2 separate regions of the Homo sapiens genome follow, and region 2 is linked to region 1. The links are contacts of gene promoters, found by promoter capture Hi-C in human tissues and cell types (Jung and others, 2019). All regions are on one chromosome and are shown on one strand. The core of a region is centred on a gene start or on the middle of the fragment in contact, and the rest is flanking DNA. Distances in the headings are between cores, read along the strand shown.

What was found. The method cuts DNA at HindIII sites, captures the fragments that hold promoters and counts their contacts. A contact is called where the count stands out against the background at its distance.
Region 2: a fragment that was not itself captured here is called in contact with the fragment with the promoter of TLE1 in region 1 in 1 of the 25 tissues and cell types used here (mesenchymal stem cells).

The regions. Positions count from the first base shown.
Region 1 is chr9:81,687,817-81,692,317 of GRCh38, forward strand. It overlaps TLE1 (TLE family member 1, transcriptional corepressor), which reads right to left and starts at 1,731. Exons shown (of 20, transcript NM_005077.5): 1 at 401-1,731. The coding sequence starts at 424. It overlaps TLE1-DT (TLE1 divergent transcript), which reads left to right and starts at 1,897. Exons shown (of 4, transcript NR_109772.1): 1 at 1,897-2,143. RefSeq lists an enhancer at 1,042-1,756 and silencers at 1,629-1,978, 2,129-2,278. The HindIII fragment of the contact is 9,578 bases long and covers 1-4,501 here.
Region 2 is chr9:80,494,632-80,498,909 of GRCh38, forward strand. No RefSeq gene overlaps it. Among named protein-coding and RNA genes, the nearest start is that of LINC01507, 670 kb to the left of the region's middle. The HindIII fragment of the contact is 3,236 bases long and covers 982-4,217 here.

The DNA.
Region 1 (4,501 bases), core at 481-2,980:
TCCCCATTCCCAGAGTCGCCGGGGCCACCTCCAGACGCACCGGAACCGGGGCCGCATTGACATGTAAATAGGCGAGAGGAGAAACAAAGGGGGGGGCGCCCTGCCCCCACTCGGGGAAGGTAGAGGGGATATGGCTGCAGGAGAGAAACCCCAGCCTTCCCCAGCGCCCCTGTCCGCTCGGTATAGACGTCAAGTAGGAAGGAGCCCAAAGGGAGGGAGAAAATTAAGAGTTTCGGCCCACTCCCCACCCCAGGAAGAGAGGGCCCCAGACCTCCCCAGCCTTACACCGCTGAGGGCGAGAAGGTCCGCCGGGCCTCAGAAGCCACCAGTCTCCCTACCGCCCGGGAGAAGCGCCTCCCCAACGATCCTGGCCCCCCACCACCACCCAGCCGCGCCTCACCGGGTGCCGGCTCTGCGGGAACATCGCTCTGGCGGCGGCCGGGGCTCTGTTCCCCGGCAACTCAATTCTCCGGTCAATTTCCAACTTTAATCCCGCCGAGGAAAATTAAGCCGGAAAGCCAAGCAGAAGCGGGGAGCGCGCTGGCCACGCACGCGCGCTCCGCCGGGCGCACCGGCCACTCGGCGCCCGCAGCTGCTCCGGCTCCCGCTCCCGTCGGTGCGGGCTCCGGCCCTCAGGGCCACATTAGTGGGCGCCCCAGGCCCAGCTGCTTCAAGAACCTGCGCGGAGACGTCGGGCGCTCGGGGACTGTGCGCGGGGGCAGCGCTCCAACCCCCGGCCTCAGCTGCCCGGGCGGGGAGGCGGGGGCGCGGTGACTCCGACCGCACTCCCCTCGGCGATCCGCGTGCGCGGCGCCAGTCCTGGGCAAACAAATCCAGACGGACTGCTTTTCTTTGCTCTTCTCCTGGTCCGCCTCCTCTTCGGGCTTTCCCCGAGGCGGCGGCGGGCGAGGTGCAGGTGGCGCGGCGGCCCCCGCTAACCCCACACAAACCCGACGCTTTCGGGGCGACTCCCGCAAGATTCGGCTGCGCCTTCGGCCGGGTGCTCGCAGGCTCCCGGGACGCAAAGGGGAGCGAGGTTGAAGACGCAGCGGAGGCTCCTGGCCGGGGAGCGACGGATGACGAGGCGGGGAAAGTGCGGAGGGCGCGCCGGGAGGCGGCTCGGCACGCCCCGTGCGACCAGCACTCGGTGTTCTCCGCGGTTGCACAAACCCTCCGGGCCCGACGGGGCTACTCCACCGAGAGCAGTCCCGCAAGTGCCCAATGCTCCTCGAGCCCGGGGAGCATCAGGGCGCCGCGCCTCGGGCGCACTCGCCCTGCACGGCCGGACCGGCCGCTCCGGACCCTTCTTCCGAGCTCCTTCTTCCTCGGTCTTCTTTCTTTCCTTCCTTCACCTTCGTGTGCTTCTCCGCAAAGGGCGCTCCAGCCCACTGCAAAGTTCTCTCACCACCCGAGGGACGACATCCACGAGATGGTGGGGAAAACAGCAGGAGTGCGCTCCGCCAATCGGCCACCCTCCCCGGCGGGCAAACTCTGCGGGCGAGTCCAGAGTAGTCACAGCGGTGGGGCCAGCGGGGGTTTTGGTCGCCGCGGGACGACGGAGGTCCGGGCTGGTGGCGCGGGTCCCGCCCGGCCGTGCGAGGGTGGGGTGGCGCAGTCGGCTGCCTCCGGGACGCGGGGCACAGAGTACCCGCCGCTGTTTCTGCTGCTGCTGCTTCTGCAGCCGCCGCTCCCACCGCCGCCGCCGCCCGCGCCTCTCGCGCCGCTTACATTAACACGCGGTTTCACACTCCGGAGCTAACCAGCGCCGGCCCCGCCCAGCCCCGTTCGGGCGGGGGGCGCGAGCGCGGAGCCGGCGGGGGACGTGAGCCCGGGAGGTTGGGGGGTGGGGGGGGGGCAGAAGGCCCGCATCAGCCAATCGCGTGCGCTGCAACCAACGTGGGGCGCTGACGCGCTCCTCCCCGGAGCGTATGGCAGCGCAGCGCCGGACGGGGCGTTCTCCCTCCCCCCCTCCTCTCGCTTCCATCTCCGCCGTCTCCTCGGTCTCCCTTCCCATCCCGGCCCCTCCTCCGCCAGCCGCGTCCTCCCGGGCTTGGTGAGGAACTGTTCCTGGAGGAGCCGCGGGACGCCAAAACCAGCCAATGGGAAGCGGCGATTCGCGGAGATTGGCACTGATGATGGGAAGGTCGGTGGGAAGGAGAGCGGCGGGGCTGGGCTGTCAATCAAAGTAACGTGGGGCTGGCTAGAGAGCGCGCGGGCGCGCGCTAGCGGGAGGGACTGGCGAGCGTGCAGCCGGGGAAGCTGAGGGCTCGAGTTAGCAAAAATCCTGCCACTTGCTCACTTTTCCCTTTAATGAAAATCCTCAGATCTAAGTGAAAGTAACTCAAAGACTAGCTGCGGAGTTTCTTATTGGAGGCGGAGGGGGGCTTTTGGTAATTCGAGCAAATGTGTTTTTCAGTGCTGGACCCCTTGTTTGATGCTACTCTAAAAGTGAGGCCACATTCAAAAATTTATCTGAGGTTTGTTTTTCCTTGAGCTGCCTTTTTACGGATGTACGAGAGGGAGTGGACTGTGCACTTAGTTGGAAATGCGTAAATGAGCAACGCCACGGTTGGCGTAGGTACACCAGCAAAGACGACTGTGATGTCCTCCCACCCCACCCACCCCCTTTGCACCCAAAGTGGTAGGATTTGATTTTTATTGCAGGATTTCAAGCCACTTTTCAAAAAGATCGTCCTGTCCCGTTTGGCGGGAAGGATTCCCAGGGTGCTGCCAGAACAAGGCACGCGTGTCCGCAGATGAGACGTTTTGCCCGGGGCGCGAAATCCCAGGTCTTCGTCTTAAAAGTCCTGACTTCGCTGTGTTGGGAGAGGTGGGGAGCGGCTGAGGTTTTTAGGAACTTCTCAGCTACAAGACTACGAGTCTGTTTCCAATTCCTGGGAACAAAGAGAGACAATGTAATAAACCAGCACTGAGACCTGAAAAACCTGTCCCGCACACCCCACCCCCACAGTCTGGGTGGTACTCCTGAGCTGAGCTGTGTGAAGAGCTAAATGGGAAGAGTTAGGTAAATGACGTGGCTAAGGTTCTTATGAAGTGGAACTTGAGTTAAAAGGGATTTTGAGATTGTAATAATCAAGACATGCTGTATAATTAATGCTGAGAGTCTTTGGTTTTTGTGTATGTCTCTAAATACACAGCAGAAAACCGTCAGTATTGCCGCATTTATGCTTTTGTTTGAGGAACATTTCCACATGAGCAGTGAATGAATAATGCTGGTTTAGCCAAACGGTGGTAACTTCTTCCATAAGGGCACATCTTGGACAAGTATTTATCTTATGTTGGAAACTAGTTAAGTTTTTGGTATTAATAACCCCCACGTTATTATTTTATTATTTTACCTTCAAGAGACTTACGGGAAGGAGCTTATTTAAACAGACATACATTTTATTTAAAGATGTGCTTTTACAGAGTTCTTTTTCTTGAAATAGTTTTAGAAGTCATTTTAGATAATACATTTCACTGTTGGAGTTGTTTTTAAATATGTATGATATTGATTTGTCTATAATTGCATCACTCCCAAATATCAATTATAAATGAAAAAATAAAAAAGCGATTTTAACCAGTCTGTACGAAGCCATAGTAAATTCTTAAACAAGTTGGGCATTGTAGCTTTGTGGTGTTCTCATTAAGTACAGTTGGGAAGGCGGCTGTATTATTCATTTTGCTAACATGGAGAACAAAAAAGAAGAAAGCACTGCCTCACTTTCCTTGGTTAAATTTGGTGACGATGACAGTTTTGCTCGACATACAGGACTTTTTGGAATCATAGGATCCCAGGGCCTTTAGCAACCTGTTTTCCTTGAAATTATCTAGTGATTGAGCCACATATACCAGTCTGCGGCCAGTTCATCCCATAATCAGCTCCAGGACCGGACAGAAAGTGCTTGGATGCCACAAGTATGCTTGTATACATGCTGTGACAACTGGAGCAACTGATATTCCTCCCCGGCTTACCCAGGCTTTATGTGGTGCCTGTATCTTGAATAACTGGCACACTCCCATTAAGTTTAAACAGAGCCATTAAAATATGCTTTGAGATGGGGCAAAAGTGTTGCTACTTCTCTTCTTTCCCCACCCCGCTGCCCTCAAAATCAGTACTAAGGCATCTTTAAATGTTCTCTAACATAACTACTCACAGACAATGTGTCTGCTCACCATATTTCCCAGTTTGCCATGAGTAAACACTAGAAATTCTCTTTTAACTAGTCTTTCCTTGCCAATAGAGTTTGAAACACCAGGCCTTCTGATTTCCTTATAATGAAGTATCTGTAGTATCTACAGAGCATTATGAATTTAAAATTGGAAGGCCTTTAATTGTGTGCATAAAAATGGTTGGTTTTGGTTTTTGAAGCCTTTTTTTCCCATTTAGAGCATCGTCTGTCAGAGTGGGAGAAGGCTCTGCCCTTTTCAAGGTCATATTTTCTCCACGATTGTCATGCTGTAATAATTATACTACAAAACTCTCATCAAACTGCATTAC
Region 2 (4,278 bases), core at 1,350-3,849, 1.2 Mb before region 1:
GTTTTATGATTTTTTTTTTTGACTGTAGAATGCAGAGACCTGAAGCAGTTCTGGGCAGAGACTCCATGGAAGATGTGCTAGGTTCCCCAAAACCATTTTGCCCTCCCAGAGCTCTGGGTTTGTGATGGGAAAGGCAGCCTTAAAGATGTTAGAAATGCCTTTAGCATCATTCTGTAACAGTCTTGATGATCTCTTCTAATCCTAATCATCTCCTAGTAAACCACAACTTGGCCACATCCTTGGTTTGCTCTCCTAAACAGGTGTTTTTCATACTTTAAATGGCCAGGCTGCAATTTTTCAAAATATTTTTATTCTGCTTCTCTTTTAATTAGAAATTTTGCCTTTAAGTCACTTTTCCTTTTGCATCTTACTGTATGCAGTTAAAAGTAGCCACACATAAACCTGATGCTTTCCTGCTTAGATATTTCTTATGCCAGATATCCTAGTACATCACTTTTTAACTTGTGCATTTTATAAAGTCCCAGAACACAAACACAATTCCATCAGTTCTTGCCAATTGTATAAGAAGGATGGTCTTTACTCCAGTTTCCAATACCTGGTTCCTCAGTTCTGTCTTAGACCTCATCAAAATGGTCTCTACTTCCCATATTTCTACCAACATTCTGGTTATAACTATTTGAGTAATCTCTAAGAATATTCAGGTTTTTCCCTATAGCTCTGCTCTTCTTCTAAGCTTTCACCAGGTTTGCTTATAATGCTCCTTTTATGGCAATATAGGCATTTTCTAGCCTTCTCCTCCGAATTCTTCTAGCTTCTATTAATTATCTAGTTCCAAACCAAAGCCATTTCCATATTTTTAGGTATCTGTTATAGCAATAGTTCCATTTGTTGGTACCAATTTTCTTTCTTAGTCAGTTTTCTGCTGTTAGAACAGAACATCCCAAACTGGGTAATTTATAAAGAAAAGAAATTTATTTCTCACAGTTCTGGAGGCTGGGAAGTCCAAAAGCATGGTGTCAACATCTGGCAAGGAACTTTGTGTTTCATCACCTCATGATGGAAGATGTAAAGGCAAATGTGAAACAGAGGAGGGAGGGGCAAACTTTATTCTTTTATCAGGAACCCATAATTGCAATAACTAAGCCACTCCCTCAATAACACCATTAATCACCTCACATCTTAAATACTACATCTCTTAATATTGTCACAACGGCAATTAAATTTCAACATGAGTTTTGAAGGGGACATTTAAACCACAGCATTGAGTTTGTTCACATTGTGTTATCCAGGAACATCAAGAGAATAAGCTTTAAATCTTCTTGAAACTTAAGCGGAGAACTCACATGACACCTTCCACATCACATTGGTCAAAGCAAGGTGTCAGGTCAGCTTTGGGAAGTCCCAATGGAGGGAATCCCCAGATTCAAGGGAAGCAAAACGGTGTGGTATTTTTCTTAATTTACCACTACTGAGAACATTAGCCTCACTTTATCCTGTCCCTAGATTAAAATACAATTAAAATTCCAATTGTCTTTTAGTGATCAAGGAAATTAAACTTTCTCTTCCTATACTCATCCTCATCTGTGTTTCCATTATATTCTTGTCAGACAGAAGCCTTACCACCATTTCTAAAATGAAAATTCTCAGCCAAAACAAAGCATGATTTTGGTTTTAAAGTAACCATTCCCACAAAGCTAAGATTTGAATTTTTAAGTTCTAACTGGCCTGTTCCATAAAAAGGAAAAATCTATTTTGTCTTGGTTCTTCCTCTTAGTATCCCTGCTTTTCAAGAACATAATTATACTTCATTCTTTTGTTGACAAGCTTTGGACATTAACTTGCAAACTCAAGAATGTAATTATCCTTCATTCTTCAGCTTGCAAGTTAACAATCCAATGTTTTAAGTTATGAATGCATGGGTTTTCTTTAGAGACTTATGAAAAGAGAGTTAAGTTTGCAACATAGTAGTTCCCATTCATACTCACTGTGCATCTGAGTATAAATAATCCTGTTAAGAAATGTTGAAGGTGAGTGTGTGTATTTGTTTCTGTGTGTTTGTGTGTGTGTGCATAGAAGGACAGGGCAGGCTAAGTTATGCTGTCCTGTGTTCAGAGAGGAGTAATAAATAAATCCAGAGAAAGCTAACTTGTGAGAAGCAAAAGCAGAGAGATTTTTCTTTCTTTCTTTTTTCTTTTTTTTTTTTTTTAAGAGACTGAGTCTCTCTTGCCCAGGCCGGAGTGCAGTGGGATGATCTCAGCTCACTGCAACCTCCACCTCCCAGGTTCTAGCAATTCTCCTGTCTCAGCCTCCCGAGTAGCTATGATTACAGGCGCATGGCACTATGCCAGGCTAATTTTTTGTATTTTAGTAGAGACATGGTTTCACTGTATTGCCCAGGCTGGTCTCGAACGCCTGAGCTGAGGCAATTCACCTGCCTCGGCCTCCCAAAGTGCTAGGATTACAGGCGTAAGCCACCGTGCCCAACCGCAGAGAAATTTTTCAAAGGATACATCTGCACTACTTCCTGCCCCATTCCTGCAGCTGCTCCATTGCTGGAAGAGCAAATGAAAATTCCCAAAGGCCCCTATATAAATCCCTTTCATTCTGGGGTCATCCATCAGTCTCTGCAACCCAGGAGAAGCCACCACTGGCTGCTCGCTGTGTGCTTCTGTTTATATGAGTTTTTATCCTGTTGCTGAGAACCCTGTCAGATGACGAGCAAGCCACATTTACCTGTAACAGCCTTACACTAGCTTGTGATGCCTAATCTCTTTTATTGATCCTACTTGCTGGTTTCTGGAGACCATCAATTTTCCTGGCTGTCAGTCTGTGGCCTTGCCTCCTTAATGTTTATTTAGACCAGCCTCCATAAATTGCTTCTGGTACGAAGGGTGAGGAAGGCAGCAGGAGGTCAGGGGTGCGTGTATACCTGTCCATAAATATAAATCACAGCTTTTGTTCTTTGCTGTTGTTTGTGAACACTGTTTGCGAGGTGAATAAAAAACGGAAGTATTCCACTAAAACGTGGGAAGCCATTACAATTTCCCCTGTGACTGTCTTTTTTTTTTTTTTATTGCAGTCTAGGTTTTCAATTTTCTGTATCTTAATGGTACCTCTTGTTGTCTACTCAAACATGTAATGTTTCTTTTTGTTAAAGTGGAGGAAGAAAAGAGCGAAGGCATTGCTTGTTTGCCAGCACAGAGCTGTACTTTGAATGCAGGTGGGTTGGTTTCTCCTTCCCCCCGACCCAAATTGCTTTTTGTCAACACAAGCATGTATATTCATCAATTTCAGTCTTCCAGAAAAGAGAAAGACTTTTCTCAGTGCTGGAGTTGACAGCACCTTGCTGAACAATTGAACCAGCACTTCTCTTCATTATGAAGCTTATAGAACTATCTATTTAGACAAAGTCCATGGCTGTAGTGGAATAGAACTTTTAAGGTGTGTGGCAGCTCACTGTCAGCACTGTTCTAATAGGGGGTTGAAGGGTGCAATGCAGAGTGCTACTGTACTCGCGATGCCACTGACAAGACCGATTGAACACAAGACAAAATGGAAAATAGTCGCAAGCAGGTGGCTGCTCTGTTATAAATAATTCAAGGGCACGTCCTGCAAAATCCAAGGGAAAAGCCCCACAGCTCATTATAACAGTGAGTTGGTAGACTGCTAGATCCTTAAATCACTGGAAAATGTTTTGCAACAGCTAAGAATTTTTTCTCCTCTGCAGTAGTAGATATCATAGTCACTATGAGGTGACAAGTGGTTCCCCTGAGGCCAGGAGGACAGCAATCAATAGAGGAGGGTAGCCTGGGCCACGACTCTCTCAGTTGATACAGAAGCATTGTGTACAGATACAATGCTCAGAATAAATCATCAGGAAAAAGAGAAGCCTCTTCAAGACAGGAAAAGAGGTACCTCCCAGAAAACATCTTATGGAACAGTTAGTTTGATTTAGTTGTCTCTGTTTTAACTTAGCTTTTTCATATTAGTTAATAGTCCGGGTCCGCTCTACTTATATAGCCTTGCTTCCAGATCCTTCCCTAAGAATGCTTCTGTTTTCTCACTTTATCACCTGTAGCCCTCACATGGGCTCCACAATTTTATGTGCTCTTCTCATTTTCTACCTTTCAAATCTTTTATTAATTTTTATTATTAATGCAGATGTCTTTCCATTCTTCGGAAATCTTACAGCACATTTAGTGCATACCAGAGTATGGTTACTTATATTTGGTGCCTGCATCAGCAAAGACAAGCTCATTCTCCCTGCAGTAACAGATAAACCCCATATCACAGTTCTTAAACAAATAAAGACATATT